2 separate regions of the Homo sapiens genome follow, and region 2 is linked to region 1. The links are contacts of gene promoters, found by promoter capture Hi-C in human tissues and cell types (Jung and others, 2019). All regions are on one chromosome and are shown on one strand. Each heading gives the region's core, a stretch centred on a gene start or on the middle of the fragment in contact. The rest is flanking DNA. Distances are from core to core; before and after follow the strand shown.

What was found. Contacts are between HindIII fragments. The study calls those that stand out against the background at their distance.
Region 2: a fragment that was not itself captured here is called in contact with the fragment with the promoter of SULT1E1 in region 1 in 1 of the 25 tissues and cell types used here (small bowel).

Annotation. Positions count from the first base shown.
Region 1 is chr4:69,858,200-69,862,361 of GRCh38, forward strand. SULT1E1 (sulfotransferase family 1E member 1) reads right to left here and starts at 1,946. Exons shown (of 8, transcript NM_005420.3): 1 at 1,850-1,946. The HindIII fragment of the contact is 19,346 bases long and covers 1-4,162 here.
Region 2 is chr4:69,809,481-69,813,644 of GRCh38, forward strand. It overlaps the pseudogene SULT1D1P. Among named protein-coding and RNA genes, the nearest start is that of SULT1E1, 49 kb to the right of the region's middle. The HindIII fragment of the contact is 5,108 bases long and covers 320-4,164 here.

The DNA of each region.
Region 1 (4,162 bases), core at 696-3,195:
CACTGTAATGGTTATATCAAAGAAATGGAATCTTGAGAGTATAAAGGATTCCTCTGTGACCTTTAAAATTACTTTTTTCCCCATTCGATCAATAAGGTAGTGGATACTCCCATTGAATGACTTGGCTAAAAATGATAAGGTTAAGCAAGATGGTTATCATTTCCTAATTCATCTCCTGATCCCATGACAATCTATTTCATGTTCAAGGTTACTAACAGAATTTTTAATTAGGCATACTTTCTTTCATTAGCTTTCAAATTCCTTTAGTATCTTGTTTTTTCAACTGCCAAACTTAGCTTATTTCAAGTTTCTGACATAGCTTCCCAACACATTTTGTCTTTCCTGACATTAGCCTTTCTAGATCTTCCTCCTGTTCACATTTGCCCAAAAACCTGCCTGATAAGTTCTTCTACACACATAAATTGCCCCAGCCCTTAGGACAATCTCAACTTTTAAAAAACCTTCCTCTACATCATATCAGATGTAATGTCACCAAAAATATGAGATTTCTATTTCCAAAATGCATATTAGCCTTATCAATAAATCACTTGTTCCCCAAGCCTTCTCCTTAGTCTCAGAAAATAGATCTTTCACTAGAAGAAATGTGTATAAAATGCACCACGATTTGTCCTGCCTATTGGTTTGCTTACTCATGTGAATTACTTTCTTGGTGTTCAGCCAAGTTTATAAGAATTGGCTTATAGTCAGCTGGGAGTGGTAGATTTATCATTAAGTGGTTGGCTGACTTCCAGCTACTCCTTCATAGTCAATTTTGGTCTGAGAGGCAAAGTAGGTGGCATGTAATAAAATATCTTTTCTCATTCTATTCCTTTTGGTAAATTGTCTCATATTACAATGTATGGATTTACTTCCTATGTGATCCCCATTTTCTCAAAAGATCTATTTCAGTTAGAAATTGTCAATTTTTTATTCTGAGTATGTAGGTCAGTTGTTCAGAAATAAACATCAAAAAAGTTGTTAAAATTGTGACTTATAAATTCAATTAAACTCAGAAAGTGTTTTTCCTTCCCGCTCTCCTTCCTCTCTTTCTTCCTTTCTTTCTGCATACTCCCCTCCTGCATCTTCCAACCTGCCTTTTATCCAGCAAATACTCCCTATGTGAATGCCTACCCTTTTCCTAGGCCCTGTAGTCAGTGCTAGAATACTATGGTGGATATAGATACATAGGGTTCTCATAGTCCCTACTTTCTTAGATTTACCTGTATGAGGGCAAAGTGACTTTTGTACATGTTTCTATCCCAATCTCCAGCACTATGACACAAAGTAGATGTTCAGAAATATTTGTTAAGTTCAATTATTAGATCAAGAAGCTCTCTAGTTTCTACTAAGTAAGGATTCACAGATTTAAAAGGCAATATATGTCAATGACCTACATATTAATTATTTACCAAGGACTTTGGATTTCTGTCATATTTATCTGAAGTTTCTTACATGAAAGTAATGCCCCTATTTGCAAGACCCCTTATCACAGGAACACAAAACTAAAAGTCAATCTCTATTCTACCTCCTTCTACCCTGCTTGCTTTATTTTCTCATTGGTAAAATGGAGAACACGTCCAGCATTCAGCACTTTTAAGATAGCAATGGTACTGTAATTTTACATTAAAGCAATAAGCAACAAAATACTACATAAATGTAAAATATTATTTTTAACAACAAATTATTTTAAAAGGTTTTAAATGCTTCACATCATTAATTAACTAAAGTATCAATCAAGACTTTGGTCTTTGTATATTTTATTTTTAAGAGCTTTGTAATACATAATTTTCATTCTATATTTTATATATCTAAAATCTAAGTATTGATATTAATAATAAAAAAGTACAACCTGTTTAGTTGATCCTGTGAAAGAAATTGATCTAGTTTATATCTCTTCAAATACCAAGGCAGATCTTAAGCTGCAAAAAAAGATGAGAACCACTTCTGCATTTGGAATGTTTCTGGTGAGTTTATATCCTGAATGCCAGAGAAGGAGGTGGAGATTAATTTGGGGGCTTGGCTTCATGAAGTCCATGATGCAATAGTTAATGTAGATGTAAATGCATACCTGCAGCTGCAGTAACCACACAGAGTCATGTTCATTCATGGAGATGTAGAAATATCCTGCTGTTATTTTTTTAATTATTTGGCTCATATTCAAATTCCCAAGTCTGCCGTCAGGGGTTGGGGAAGAAGGAGGGAGAAAAGGAAAAGATGAGAAAGAAGAGGCCTGGGAAGAGAGACTGGGAAGGGAGAATCCCTTATTCACTCATTGACAAATAATAGCATGACTATGGTTAACTTTCAAAAGAATAAACTTATTGGAGTGAAGAAAGAGAAGCCAATGAGGAAAGAAATAAGACAGCAAGGACCCTCAATCAGACCTAGCTCAGTTTATTAAGACCTGCCAAAGAAGTCATTGGGTTGTATCTTAACATGTCAATTGGAAAACACCTATTTAAACTCTTTGCCTTTAACTCTTAAGCAGACCTGAAAATTTTAAAAAGCAGATGACAGCTAAAGAAAGAATGTAAACATCACTCACCTTTCGATTATTATTTTAGAAACCTGACTTCTCTCTGCTCCCAACCACAAAATAGCATACTGTGAATTTTTCAGGTAATGATAGCTACCAACACTTGGAATTTACACAAGAGAATTAGAAAAATAAATGGCCAAGGGTTTGTGGAATCCACAAATGCATTACCTTTCTTTTCATTTTTCTGCACCTACTCTGTCACTTAAGAAAATTATCCTTTGCTCCACCCCATCAACACCTCCAACCCTGTTATTTCTTATTTCTCTATTAATTACTGTTAGATTACATTTCCTTTGAGAGGCTCACTCTTACAAGACTCTATGTTTCTCTTAGTGACTTTTAAACTTTGAACTTTCTCCTAACTAGTATTTATTTTACTGTGTTGTAAATCAATGTTTGCTTGTCCAGAGTACTTTTTAAATTATAAATAGCTTGAAAACAGGGTCTTACTCTGTAATTAGCATTTTTTTCTGGCATCTAGTAGGCTAGGCATTGAATATGTATTTACTGAATAAAAGTGGCTGATTTATTCAAGAAATATAAGAAGTTAAGGGGGCTATAGTTGTTATAGAAAGCAATATCTAGCCTTATGCAAAATAAGAGGTGTTAAGTGGTTTCTGAAAAATGGGGCTTTTCATAATAGAAAATTAAGGTAGAAAAGGAGTAACCAGGGACCCAAATTTAGATTTTCATTTTACTTTGTTTTATGCAGTCTGTCATATTATTTGAGTTAAATAAAATATGTGTTGAAAAACAATCATTAAATGTACAAATTTACTCATTCATATGCCTACTATGTACCTTTAAAAATTAAGTATATATATACAAATTTAATACAGAATATAATTTTTAACCTTGCAGCATAGCTTCACTTTATTTTTTTAATGACAAGAATCTATGAAGTTTCCTTTATTGTTTAGCGAAAACATTTTTTAGTCCAAAAAAATCAGAAAATGAGCACAAGCTAATATAAACAGATTTAACCTCAATACATCTGTCTGTTTTTCACTTGTAAACAATTGGTTGCAGGGATGTCACAAATGCTCCTAACTCATGTAATTCTGGCAACCACAGATGTTCAATACACATTTATTCTTAGAAAATCTTTCTAATGTTAAGAATTCACTTACTGATAAAAACAAAACAACAGGCAAGATGGCCCTGAAACCTCATTCTTCTCCATGAGTAATGGGTACAGACTGAGTTACAAAATGTTTGAGTCAATGTCAAAAAAAAAAATGGATCTCAGATAAGGACCGGTTTTTAATGTTTATCTTGACCCTCAGAATTTGGGCAGATATCTTGAAAATATGTACATTTATTAAGTATTATAATAATGTCAAACAAAAAGAATGTGGGCAGATATGCAGACAGACATACTGCTGTTATACTCTGAAACACTGAAAACAAGTGTAAAGCTGGCACTTCTGTGTGACAGAGTTCCCAAAACAATTACTGTGGCTTTTTTGTGACTATTGGGCTTTTTCTGTAGCACACACTTTCTCTGGATCAAGATTAAAAGTCCTATAGAGTCTTTTTTATAAATAGCAAGATTTTAATATTAATAATGTGAAAATAAGTTGCATGTTTAACTGAGCCTTTGTCAAAGTTAACCTGTAATCC
Region 2 (4,164 bases), core at 1,624-4,123, 48 kb before region 1:
ATGCATATTTGTAAACTACAATTATGCTAAATAATGAAGAAGCAGTTCAGGAGTTATTTGAATATCCATTGTTTAAAAGCAACTGACAATGACTCAAAGGATTTAGAGAATGACAGGCATGTTGAGAAAAGTTGATAGGTTCTCAGTGCTTGGGCATTGAGTGTAACCCCTAGCTACAACATTGGTGTCCACTGGTGTTACTTTGATCTGTGGGATATAGGAGCCACATTATTATTTTGCAATTACTTATCTAGAGGTTGCAACCCCTCACCTTGTGTTTCTGCATAATTGGTAAAAAAAATTTACAACACAAATAAGAATTATATCTCTTTAAAATTTGCTATCTTACAGTTATTCTTCCAAAATGAAGAAGGGAGAAGTTGAACAGGCAGGTGTGTTTTCACTAATTGAGGAGACTGCATGTTTTGCAACTGCTCAACACCTACAATCACAAAAAATTAACAAACTACCATGTAAACATAGAATTATAAATATGATTTACAATATAATCTAAGATTTTCTAAACCCCACTATATGGCTTAAAATGGCTATATGACTTCATATACTCTTAAAATCTACACTGAGATTAAAAAAGATAAACTCTGAGAAGACTCTTTTATGCCTATGAGCAACATAAGACTATCATCTTCATAAGTGGCTATAAAATCCTCAGATAGAACACCTTGATGAGGTAGAAAGAGCTACAGGTCAAGAATCATAATGTCTAGAATTTTTCTTCATTTATATTCTTCTGTTTATCATTTATGATATGAGAAAATTGCACTAGAGGATTTCAAAATCCCTTTCCAGCTCTCCCATATTTGAATTCTAAGATTGAACTAGGCCATGAAGCTTATGGCTATTTTTTTAATTTAATAATGCAAGATCGTATATCCATATCTCTTTTCCTTGAGTTTGTAAATATGAGATAACTTGTAGTATACATGATTCTATATTGAATCAAATATTGAAGTTTGTCTATATAATGATTACCTAATAATTAAACATTTAAAACTTCCATCTGTCTTTGAAAGAAAACATGCTACATACATTAAAATCTTCTCTTATGCATATATTACCCTTGGATGGAGGAAGAATATAATATGATTATTGGCACAGTCAGATTCTGACTCCTCTATTACAGATGCTTATGATTCAATTGTCCAAGCTTGTCATTTTCTGTCATGACTCCTCCAGATATCTTAAAAAAAAAGGGGGGGGAATTTACTCTTGTAGTGAAAAGAGACATTTAAAAAAATACCATTTGTGAGTCCAGGAATTATAAGTTCCATGAAAGTCACTCGCTTGTATATTGCATCACGTTTACATTTCTCTGCATCCCCATTGTTAAAGATCAAATCCAATATTTCACTGATCCAGGTCATCCCTAAGGAAAGAAAATATTAACAAAACTTTAAACTTTTCTGTCAAAAAGAGTATAAGATAATCAGTGGCTGTAGAGAAGTTGTGTAACAATATCTAAAACAAAAATGTATTCTTTATTTCCACTCCCTTTCTTCTCCCCTTTCCTAGGAACCATCCTTATCTATCTTTTGTTTTTGTTTTTTGACATAGGGTCTCACTCTGTTGCCCAGGCTGGAGTGCAGTGGCAGAATCATGGCTCACTGTAGCCTTGGCCTCCTGGACTCAAGCAATTCTCCCATCTCAGCTTTCTGAGTAGTTGGGACTAAGTTGTGCACCATCACTCCCAGGTAAACTTTTTAATTGTTTGTAGGAAAGGGGCCTCACTGTGTTGTCCAGGCTCTTATTTATCTTGAACATACATATAATTTTTGTGTGTGTGTAAAATGTGATTAAAATATCATACAAATAAGACCCAAAAAGGAGGTAAAAGAGGAAGTATTAAACAGACAGGTTGTGAGTAATGATAACGTACTCTCTGGGGTAAAATGGGTGGAGGAAGTGGCCAACTTCAATGTCTATCAGTTTGTAAATTTCCTACTAATATCAAAAAGTTTATTAGAATTGAATTGCATTTCAGGTAAAAATGTTCTAGATTTGGTGAAAGGGTAAAGAAGGAAAAGAAAAAATCTTGGCAATTTTCCATGCAGTGACCAGTGTGCCACTCACAAAAAAAAGACAATAGATTCTGATTGAGTAGAGTGGATCAAGATACTCTGACCATTATGATATTGTGTCTCACCAGTTATTTGAGAAATGTATCTAAATCATATGTGCCTATGGTATACTTAATTGTACATTCAACAGTCAGATTATTGAGGCACTGCTAAAAAAAAAGAAATATAAGACATAGGAAATAAGTATCTCCTTAACTGTTCCCATTTTCTTCCTCTTTACCAAAGGTATAATGATAAATTAAATAATAGGAGGCAGTAACTAAAATATTAAGTTAATTAGTTAATCATTTGATTAAGCCATGCACACGACAACATTTTTAAATAATGATCTATATGTAGATACACATTTGGATTGCACCCAGATACTACAGCACATTAGGCCCCCTTTTTGGTCTTTTCTTGTGGTCAACTCTTCCTCCTTCTTGTCCCCAAATCATGAGTACCTGTACTAGGCAATCTCCCCAATCCTATCACAGATTTAGTACTAAAAAACAGATGAGCCAAATCAGTACCAACGTTGAACATTTTGCTGCTTGATCTGGTTTAGGCTTAAGCAACGATTCATGAGTTAAAAGAGAGAGAAGGAGAGAGACCTAAATTTCAAAGTACAATGTAACTCATTTTATCTCTTATTGGGGAAAGTTTTAAATTGCGGCCCTTGAAGTCTGACTGAAAGAAATACCAATTTAGCTGTTTTGTATGCTTTGTAATGAAAAAGTCTGTGGACTTTGTAGAGAAAAAAAATAGCACATGGTTTAGCTCACCTAAGGAGATAGTTAACTTGTACCTTTTGTAACAATGTTAATAAGGCACTAATATATTAATAATTTTAAAACTTTAAGACATGTTCACACCCATGTGTAAAGGAAACAATGACAAAAACCTACGAAAAAGAATGTTAAACTATGTGTATACTTCTCTGCAGAGTTCACAGAGAAAAATAAAATAAAAATAAAAAATAAACTATGTGTAGCCATTTTAGCTTTTACTATACTAGAAAAAGTTTAGCTTCAATGAGTATCTTGTAGATGAACTATTTGTATAATGGTACCTTTCAAAGATTATCTTAATGGTTTTCTTCTTTTGAATATATCCAAAAATAGCAAAAACAAAAGGACGTGTACATTCTCAGTAACTGACTTCCCTTCTCTAAACACTTATTTCAACAATGAAATGAAATGCGGTTTTAGTCTTAAACAATTTGGGTTTGGTGAACTACTCAGAAAGCAAGGTAAGTAGTAAGAAAATAAAGATGCTTTGTCAAAACAAGTTAGTTTTTTACATGTACCAAAATCTGTATTGTGCATTGTTTACTTCCTAGAAGAAGCTCTTTGTTCTCATACAGGTTCACAATTTTGGCAGATTAACATCCCTCAAATTCAGGGCTTTCCTCCTGAGACTTGTTACACATTACTTTAAAATAATTTTGATATTTTTGATAATTTTGATATACATAATATAAAATAATCAGTACACAATATGTTTACTTGAAATGTATTTCTTTAAGAAATTAAATAGGAATATAAAGGAAATTTGCCTTTAGGGGGTTTGGTAATTATGGGACAGTTGATTAATTGTGGACTAAATTAATTTAACTGAACAAAAGGCTAGAAAGAGCCTCATCTGTGATATATCTCTGCACGACTATCACTGGGTAAATCAGAAGATTCTGTCATAGCAGATATGGAGAAATAAAAATTGTTGATTCTTAATAAGTCATCTTAAGTTTTTCTGAGATTGTATACTGAAATCAGCAGTTGTTTAAATATACAAACAAAATATTTAAATATCAAAATGTATAGAATATGTATATTCCAATATATCTGATATGTGTGTGTATATAATGGAATATACATATTCTAATGTATCCAAAACATATATATATACAGTTTTAATAATTTCTATTTGAATTTAAAAAGAAAAACAAGAAAACGACATTAATTTTTCTCTCAGATATATTCTTTATTCAATTGGTAACCTTTCAGAATAGGAAGTAAATTAGTCTAACTTAAGATGACACTCTCACAGCAACCACCACAGGGTTTCCTCAAAAAATGTTTAATAA